Regions from separate parts of the Homo sapiens genome. Here region 1 is linked to region 2. The links are contacts of gene promoters, found by promoter capture Hi-C in blood cells and fetal thymus (Javierre and others, 2016). All regions are on one chromosome and are shown on one strand. Each heading gives the region's core, a stretch centred on a gene start or on the middle of the fragment in contact. The rest is flanking DNA. Distances are from core to core; before and after follow the strand shown.

Region 1 (4,535 bases), core at 1,205-3,704, 260 kb after region 2:
TGATGACCTGCAACTGGCCTCAGGGGCTCCCTCAGGGAGCCCTGTGCAGTGCCAGGGCTGGTAACGCAGCATGTGTGCCTACACGATGAGCCCTCCATTGTGTGCTTCCTGATTCTAATATCTCAGGTGCATCAGTAGATCCTGATCTGAAAGAACAAGCACATGGTCGTTCCACATCAGTGTAACAACTGGAGCTCTCCCCTGACTCTCAGAACCCCTCACTATGAGGCAGCCTTTGGCCCTGATGCATATCCTCATTTTAATGGTCTTAATATCTTGTATTTTTTTCCTGAAATAAATCTTAGCTTGGTCAGCATAGCCATGTAAGGTCCTGGGAGTTTTACTTGTACTGGAACTCAATCTAACTTCCACCGTTAGTGCAATATGGATTAAAAAACTGCTTCCTGTGGGCAGGACACTGTGCTCAGCTCAGTGGACTTAGAAGTGGTTACAATTCCATTCTCTGCTCTCCCAGGAGAGCTGCAATTCACAGCCTTGGCTACACTGGTGTCGTCTGGGGAGCTTTAAAAGCTACTAAGGCCTGAGCTCCATCCCCAGAAACTACCAGTGGAATATTGGTCTTGAGGTTTTTAAAAGCTCCCCAAGTGGTCCTAATATGAAACCAAAGGTGCAAACCACTCATAGATAATGAACACAAAGCAGTAATGGTCTTAGAAGACCAGGTTGAGAATGGAACTAAGCCACTACCACTGTCTGGACCTTTGCGAAGTCCTGTCCCAAGGGTACAGTTATTGGTGTTAAATTTCCTACTCAAGGCTAGAGGTCAGCTGTGGAAGTCTTTCGTCTTTGAGGCACTGGTTGCCTTCCAAATGAGCGTCCAGGAAGACGGTCAATGCTCAACCCAAAAAACCCCTGCTGTCTGCAAGGGTGGAATTTCTGACCTCATCACGCCTGGGTGAGGGGACACTTGCAAACAAGGATCACATTTTTATGCTTCTCGTGACACACACTGGGGATAAAACTCAATGCCAGACACATTTAAGGGAATCCTGCAGGCCTCAAGAGATGTACCACCTGGGATTAATGAGAGCTTTACTTTGAGACTTGAGTCTCTCTTCCAAATTTCGAAGCTTCTCATGCCCATCACAGCTCTGGGTTTTGCATATTTGCTATTGACCTTGAGCAAGCCATTTTCTCTCTAAGCTGTATTGGCATCACAATCCAGCTATCTTGAATTGCTAGGCATCAGGGCCTCACAACCTCTGTAGCCACAGTCAACTACCACGTAGTGATGAGCCCCAGAAGGAACTAAGCTGTAGCCAGGCAAGAAGCAAAGCAAATTTTGGAACAAGTAGGGGCTCATACTTTCTCCAACCTGCAAGGAGTCAATCGTTGTCCAGTGAGCTATGATAAGCACCATGACAGTTAATCAGACAGTGAGCCATTTATTGGTTTTTATGTAGCTCTTTCACATTGCAGGCTTTCTACTGGGGAAAGAGGAAAAGGAAGATAGGGTAGAGTACAAAGAACTGCAAAGCCTAGATTCTTTGTGGACCACTCTTCTGGTGCCATTAGATGGGAATACCTTGCGGGAACCCCAAAAGATCCATTGCTGCTCTCTGAGGAGGAGTTAGAGTCAAACAGACTCTTAAACCCTTTGCACATTTGGTTTCTCTTGAGAATGTGAGGCATCGTTGTGGTAGGCCATTTTGTGTCACTATAAAAGAATACCTGAGACTGGGCAATGTACAAAGAAAACAGGTTTAACTGACTCCTGTTTCTGGAGGCTGTATGAGAAGCATGGTACCAACATCTGCTTGGCTTCTAGTGAGGCCTCAGGAAGCTTAAAATCATGGCGGAAGGCAGCAGGGAGCCAGCATGTGACATGGTGAGAGTGGGCACAAGAAGTGGTGGGGGGAGGTGCCATGCTCTTTTGAACAATCAGATCTCTCATGAACTACCAGAGCGAGAACTCACTCATCACCAGGAGGATGGTGCTAAACCATTTATGAGACATCCGCCTCCCTGATCCAATCACCTCCCGCCAGGCCCCACTTCCAACTTTAGAGATCACATTTCAACCTGAGATTTGGAGAGAACACACATCCAAATCATATGGAACATTTTAGGGGTAACTTTGTCTAGTTCATTTCACTTCTCTGGGGCTCTAGAACCAAATACACACGCTACTCACAGAATGTGAGCCATTTATTGTTTCTTTTAGTAGCTCTTCCATTGTAGGCTTTCTGGTGTTAAATTTCCTCCCCGAGGTTAGAGACCAGCTTTGGAACCAGAACTTGACCACTGATCATGTGATGTAGTCAGATTTGAGGTTGGAATCTCAGAGGGAAGTCAGTGACAGCCACTTTCCGCCCCAACACTCCAAGATTCTATTTTTTAGCCTCTGCGTCCTTGGATAACACAAGTTCTCAACAGAGTGGAAGGCATCCCTTCCTTTAAAAGTCAGAAGGGGGTTTGAGAAAGGAGACTTCTCCCGACTTGGCCAGATTTGCTGCATGGTGCAGAACACTGAACATCCAGCTGGCTCGGAGCTCTCCAGGGTCCTGACGGGTCCTGGCTTGGGTTCTCTGTGCCCGAGGCTGGCTCCTCCTCCCTGGCCCACCTCTTCCCCTGAAGGTGACTCCTCAGTTGCAGGTTCTGGAGAGCAGAATGCAGGACTGGGGCAACCTTGCCATGTCACCCTGGAAAACATCTATAAACCTATGTTTAATCAGTTTAAACCTAGTTACTCCCTGTCCCCAATGCTTTTATGACTTATTGAACAAATATTTTCCAGCTAGGTCTGGAAGTTTTTGGCTTTTTATTCTTTGATTGCATTTGTCCTCCGAGTAACACCTTCTCCTCTTCTCCTCTTCTCCTTCTCTTCTCCCTCTTGCCTCTCTCTCTCTCTCTTTTTAACCTTTTTCTTCTCTTCTCAGATTGAGTGTCTCCTTCTTCCAGGGGTAGAAAGAAACACGTTCTAATTATCTTCTGCAAAAATGATTCTCATAGACCTCACTGTATTCACATTCTGAATTTGAACTTGAATAATCCTGAAGTTCTCCATTCTAGAAAAACCTTATTTCTCCATAAGCTGCCATGTTGTTAGAAAACTGTCTTGCCCTTTGGGGATGAAAGCTTGACTGAAATGGATTGGCCCCATTTCCTACAATTGACCCCATAGCCCACCTTAGGCAAAGTGGAGGATCTTGGGTGCAACATCCACTCATTCAACAAACACGCACGGAGGCTCTTCTATGTGCCGGGCACTGCTCTCCACACAAGAAATGCAGCTGTGAACAAGACAGACACAAATCCCCACCCTTGGGGAGCAGCCACGCTCATGCAGGAGATGGGAGTGTATGCTGTGATACAGAGGGAAGCCTTCCCACTGTGGGATGAAGTAGAGAAATTGTTTATCTAAGAAATGAATGAGAGAGAGCTCTAGAAAAAGCACACATCCTTCCTCAGAACCCAAGAATAAAATATTCCCAAACATCTAAACTGATCTCAAAGTGTGCCGGTGTTGGCTGCAGTTTTGGATTTATTTCCATCCTGATGGGTGGGACCAAGGCTGGGAGCCTCCTCATTGGAGGAAGTCAGGGGAAGTGACAGGCCACAGGAGAAAACAAGGGGGAAAGGTTCCCTCCTCTGAAATCTTTTACTTGTTCCAGATGTCAGAGCACTGGGGAGAGAGGAGGAAGCGCAAAGAGGGAGAATGTTTGTGGCCAGTGGAGCTTTCAAGGGGTGAACTTTAAGCCTAATCACAGCTTTGCCTGAAGGGGCACCAGCTCTTCCTCTCCAATTCACAATCTGCCCAAAGCCTCCGACTGCTTATGTGTCTAAAAAGGGTTTCAGAGATTTCCTCATGCTCACACTCAAGGCTCTCCCCTGAGCACTCTCCCAGGCCCTGCGTGTGCAGCTGTGAAATGGTGCAAGCCTCTGGGAGGGCCGTCAGCCAATAGAGGTTGAGACCCACATATTTTAAACCAGAAATCCCAGTTCTGGGCATTTATCCTGAAATAATTTAAAATAGAAAACCTGCTTTTATGGAGAGGGGGAAGCACATTAGAACTGTAAAAGACCAGAAATAATATAAATGCCAAATAGTAGGGTTAAGTGAGTTGTGGCATATTAATTTTGTGGAATATTAAGTTTATCATTAAAATAATAAGCATAATGCCCAGTGGATTATAAATGTCAGAAATCCCAGAAATCAGCTGCTTCTCTTAGAAATGAGGAAACTGACTTCCAGGGAGGAGAAGTGACTTATCTGAGATTCTGAGCAAGCCAGGAACTAGTCAAGAACTGACTGGGCAAGAACTGGCCCTGAAGGCTGCCTTGAAGTCTAGTTCTTCCCAACATTACAAGACCTTCCAAAGGTGGCAGCTCACGCATCACTTGTTTTGGGGGAACACAAGTGGGATATCAAGTGCCATGAATTCAGGGGCATTCAGTGCCTTGGAAGGACCTTGTGTGAATGGAAGTGCATTGCCAAGGTCTTTCGGTCCCGATGGCTCCCGTGGGAGGGTCTCAGCGGTCTGGAGCTCCCGGGTCCTCAAGGCACTCAGACA
Region 2 (4,541 bases), core at 137-2,636:
CTGTACAGCACATGACTGTACTGAATATTGTACGCAACTGTAACACAATGCATTTCGGTACTAGACATGTCTAGACGTAGAAAAGGTAAAGTAAAAATATGGTATTATAATCTTATGGGACCATCGTTGCATATGTGGTCCACTGATGACCAAAATGTCATGATGTGACACATGACTGTAGCCCCTTTATCCACCTCTTCTGTTACCCCTCCGAGGGGCCTCTGTCTCCTGCCGGGCTCTGGCTGACATGCCCCGTCCCTGCCATCCCCTGATGGCCCCATACTCACTCCCAGAACTCCACCACAGCGCTGGTCATGTTGGTAGTGTTGACCATGCTGTAGTTGGAGAAGCAGCGGTCTGTGTTCCAGGGGTTGTCGCACTGTTTCCACGGCAGTGTCTGCAAGGACACAGTCATGAGGACGCATCCTGCTGGGCTCCCAGGGGCTGGCATGAGTGGTCCCAGTGCACCCTGCCCACCCTCATGGTCCCCAAGCCTCCTCACACCTCCCCTTCGCAGCAGCTCTGGGAGGCAAGTAGCATTATGATCCCCATTTGACAGATCAGAGAGGGACAGTGACTTGCTTGAGAATGCACAGCTACTAAGTGCCAGAGCTGAGATTTGAACCTCAACCTGTTCACTGTGAGAACAGCCTTCCAAGCTGCAGCCGGGGCTACTTCCCCACCATGTGACCTTGGGCAAGAGACCTTGCCCATCTAACTCTCACTGCAACGACACCAGCAAACACTTACAGGGCTTGTTCTCTGCCAGGCGCAGTTCTAAGTTCCTTACACATATCTGCTCCTTAATCCTCACAAGAACCCTATGAGGTGGGTTTCACTTTTTGTTTTCTTTCATTTTTTAATTTTGATAAAATACACACAACATTTACCATCTTAACTATTGGTGCCTGTACAATTTAGAAGCATTAAGTATACCCATAATGTAGCTCCCTGAACCCTGCCACACCTCTGCAAATACAGTCATGTGTCACTTAACAATGGGAGTACATTGTGAGAAATGTATTGCCTAACATTGTCAGCATCCAGCTCCAGAACTTTTTTCATTTTGCAAAACTGCAACTCCACCCACTAAACAACAACTCCTCATCCCCCTACCCACAACCCCTGGCAACCATCATTCTACTTTCTGTCTCTATAAATTTGATTACTCTAGGGAACTCATATAAGCAAGATCAAACACTATTTGTATTTTTGTGACCGGCTTATTTCACTTGACATAATATCCTCAAGGTCCATCCATGTTGATGCATGCGTCAGAATTTCCTTCCTTTTAAGGCTGAATTACATTCCATTGTATGTATAGACCACATTTTGCTTACCAATTCATTTATCAGTGAACGCTTGGCTTGCTTCCACCTTTTGCCTACTGTGAATAGTGCTGCTGTGAACAGGAGTGTACAAATATCTCTTTGAGAGCTGCTTGTAATTCTTCAGGTATCTACTCAGAAGCAGAATTGCTGGATCATATGGTAATTCTATGTTTAATTTTTTGAGGAACTGGGGCAGGTTCTAATTTTATTTCCATTTTATAAATGAGGGCACTGAGACTCAGAGAGGTTAAGTCTCTTTTCTGAAGTTGCACAGCTGGTATATAGTAGAGTCAGGATTTGAACCCAGGCTGTCTGTGTCCATATAAAATGTGCTAACAATACGCACTTTAGAGGGGTGTCATGAGGATTGGATGTGAGCCTGCAAGGAGTGCCTGTCTCACAGGAGATGCTAAATTTGTGAGGCTATGGCTGTTGTGGGGAGACCAAGGCCCACAAAAGACAAACCAAGTTCCCCACTCCTGGAGGAATGGCCTTGTCAGCAGAGTGGTGGCCGTGGTGGGCCAAGGGTGGGCTCTGGGTGTGGCTTCTGCTGGATGGGGTGGTCAAAGGGACCACTCACCGTGGTGAAGGAGTTGTACAGGTAGTAAATGGCCCAGGAGATGATGACGATGTAGTAGATGTTCAGCCAGAATGATAGCACAGCAGCCGCAAGGCCCACGCCTGGGAGCGGAACACAGACACGCGTCCATTTAATACGGAATTAACATGAACTGTCGTGGCATGTTCCATGACCTCTACAATCTTATTGATCTCGGAGACAGGCATTACTGAGGACACTGAGGCTAAGAGAGAGGCAGTGACTTGCTGAAGGTCATGTACATCTGACAAGCCAGGGGGCCAGGACTCATGTCTGGGGCCCAGTGCAGACTGGTGGCAGGCAGGGCTGGGGTCTCAGCTTGCCGGACGAGGTGAGGCCCAGGCCCTCGGTCAGTGAGCATGACTCACCATGTATCTACCTGGGTGCCTGTCAGGCACTGAGCACGAGGCAAAGAAAGTCACACCCAGCCCTTGCAGAGGAAATAGATGGGCTAACAGGACAGAGCAGGCTGATGTGCGGGGGACTCTGGATTGGGCCTCTCCACCTCCACCTCCCTAGCTTCTGACCAGCACTGTCATCTGCCACCTGGCCCCTTGCAACAGCCCTCACTCTGCTCAGATATGCACCTGGTGGATGGATATGTGATGTCAGCCCTGGTCTGGGTAGACAGCTCGCTCTCTCCAGAGGGCAAGAGGTGTGTGTGGGCAGGGGCACCACCACCCAGGTCCCTGATCTGCAGACTTACCCTTGAACATAGGAGCCAGCTTCCATACCCCTAGCCCCCCGATGGAGGTGTACTGGCCCAGGGAGCACTCCAGCAGGAAGAGTGGGACCCCCGCAAAGATGAGTGTCAGGAAATAGGGGATCAGGAAGGCTCCTGCAGGTAAAGAAGACAGAGCTCGTGGCCCCAAGACTTTCAAGACCCGCCCTGGTAGAGGGAGTGTCGTGGGTCTGGGTCCCCATCCAGTATTTCTTTATACCTGCCTCAAAAGCAGGACCCACAGCCAACCACAGGCCCAAGGAAAGCCATATGTGAAATACATCCCATTTTTTGCAGGTGAATAGATGAATTTCTTGGTATCATTAACAGAGGACAATTGTCCTTCAGGAATCTTTTGATAAAGGGACAAGAAACAAGAAATGGGGCCTGGTGCTCCCTCTGGAGTCTTTAGGGGGGCTTTTCTCCTACAGTTGCCCCAGAAAAATGCCTAAGCAGGATCCTTTTTGCAGGGTCCAGACCCAGCCAGGAGGTCCCCGGGCCAGCACCTACCCCCACCATTTTTCCCGCAGAGATAGGGGAACCTCCAGACGTTGCCCAGGCCGATGGCATAGCCCACACAGGACATGAGGAAGTCGAAGCGGCCCTTCCACGTGTCCCGGTCGGGGAGGTCTGCCGCCTTCTTCTGCACCTTGACCACCAAGGTTTTGGGCTTGTCATTGGCCACAGGGGCCTCGCTGACCTCGGTGGAGATCTGCCCGTCGGCCACCTTGCTGCCGTTGGTCGCCATGTCTCGGAATTTGGACGCAGGGGTCCTGGCAGATGGACGTGCGATGTCACCCCCGGTCCACGTGGACAGCAGTTTTGCGGCTCAAGGGCACCCTAGGAGGACGGGGTGGGTAACAGGCACAGAAAGAGAGTAGGACCTTGGAGTTGCCTCACCCTAAAATGACAAAAACAAAATAACCCATAAACAAGCTAGGGGCTTGAAAAGGCTCTCTATAAGCCCTCTTCCTCTCACCCGCCCTTGCTCCTGGAGGAAGGAAGGTGACTTTTGTTTCCAAAGACACAGCGATGTTTCCTGGCCTAGCTTCAACTCTGGCCATCTGTGTCCAACCCTCTGTTGTATGTCCTGCTCAGAGGAGAAATCTGAGGCCACCAAACTTCCAACAGGAAATGTTAAGTACTTAATCATAAAATCTTTAACTTTGCCTCCAAGGATGCAATTGGGAGCCTTGTCACACTCTGCGGCCATACTAGCCATCGCCAGGGTGAGCAAGAAAGAAGCTCCACCTGTGGCTGAATGGGGAGAAAGGTGTCCCCACTACGGAGGTGTCTGGGTGAAGACGACAGAGCCTAGGAGTTACGACCTCTGATCACAGTCCACTTTACCACATTTTTTTTTTTTTGAGATGGAGTCTTGCTCTGTTGCCCAGGCTGGAGTGCAGTGGTGCCATCTCAGCTCACTGCAAGCTCTGCCTCCCGGGTTCATGCCATTCTCCTGCCTCAGCCTCCCGAGTAGCTGGGACTACAGGTGCCCACCACCACGCCCAGCTAATTTTTTTTTTGTATTTTTAGTAGAGACGGGGTTTCACCATGGTCTCGATCTCCTGACCTCGTGATCCACCCGCCTCCGCCTCCGCCTCCCAAAGTGCTGGGATTACAGGCGTGAGCCAGCCACTGCACCCTGCCCCGACTTTACCACTTTTGAGCTGTGTGACCTTAAGTACACTCAACCTCTGTGTGCCCCTATCTTTTAAAATGAGGATGACACTGGTACATCTCTCACTGGGTTGCAGGAAGTCCTGAGTCTATACTTTTAACAAGCTCTGCCAAAGGAGATTCTTATACTGGTAGCCCAGCCCTGGCCCTCAGCTAAGGGCCACTGGTTTAGATGACCTCTTTCAGCCTTCAATCACCCTAAGATATTCTA

What was found. The method cuts DNA at HindIII sites, captures the fragments that hold promoters and counts their contacts. A CHiCAGO score of 5 or more calls a contact.
Region 1: a fragment that was not itself captured here is called in contact with the fragment with the promoter of SLC6A1-AS1 in region 2 in 1 of 17 cell types (M1 macrophages); the score reaches 5.1 in M1 macrophages.

What each region holds. Positions count from the first base shown.
Region 1 is chr3:10,752,157-10,756,691 of GRCh38, reverse strand. No RefSeq gene overlaps it. Among named protein-coding and RNA genes, the nearest start is that of LINC00606, 9.8 kb to the left of the region's middle. RefSeq lists a silencer at 2,431-2,631. The HindIII fragment of the contact is 1,295 bases long and covers 1,807-3,101 here.
Region 2 is chr3:11,016,069-11,020,609 of GRCh38, reverse strand. It overlaps SLC6A1-AS1 (SLC6A1 antisense RNA 1), which reads left to right and starts at 1,386. Exons shown (of 3, transcript NR_046647.1): 1 at 1,386-1,490. It overlaps SLC6A1 (solute carrier family 6 member 1), which reads right to left. Exons shown (of 16, transcript NM_003042.4): 3 at 3,161-3,551; 4 at 2,636-2,767; 5 at 1,912-2,012; 6 at 288-397. The coding sequence starts at 3,398. The HindIII fragment of the contact is 14,538 bases long and covers 1-4,541 here.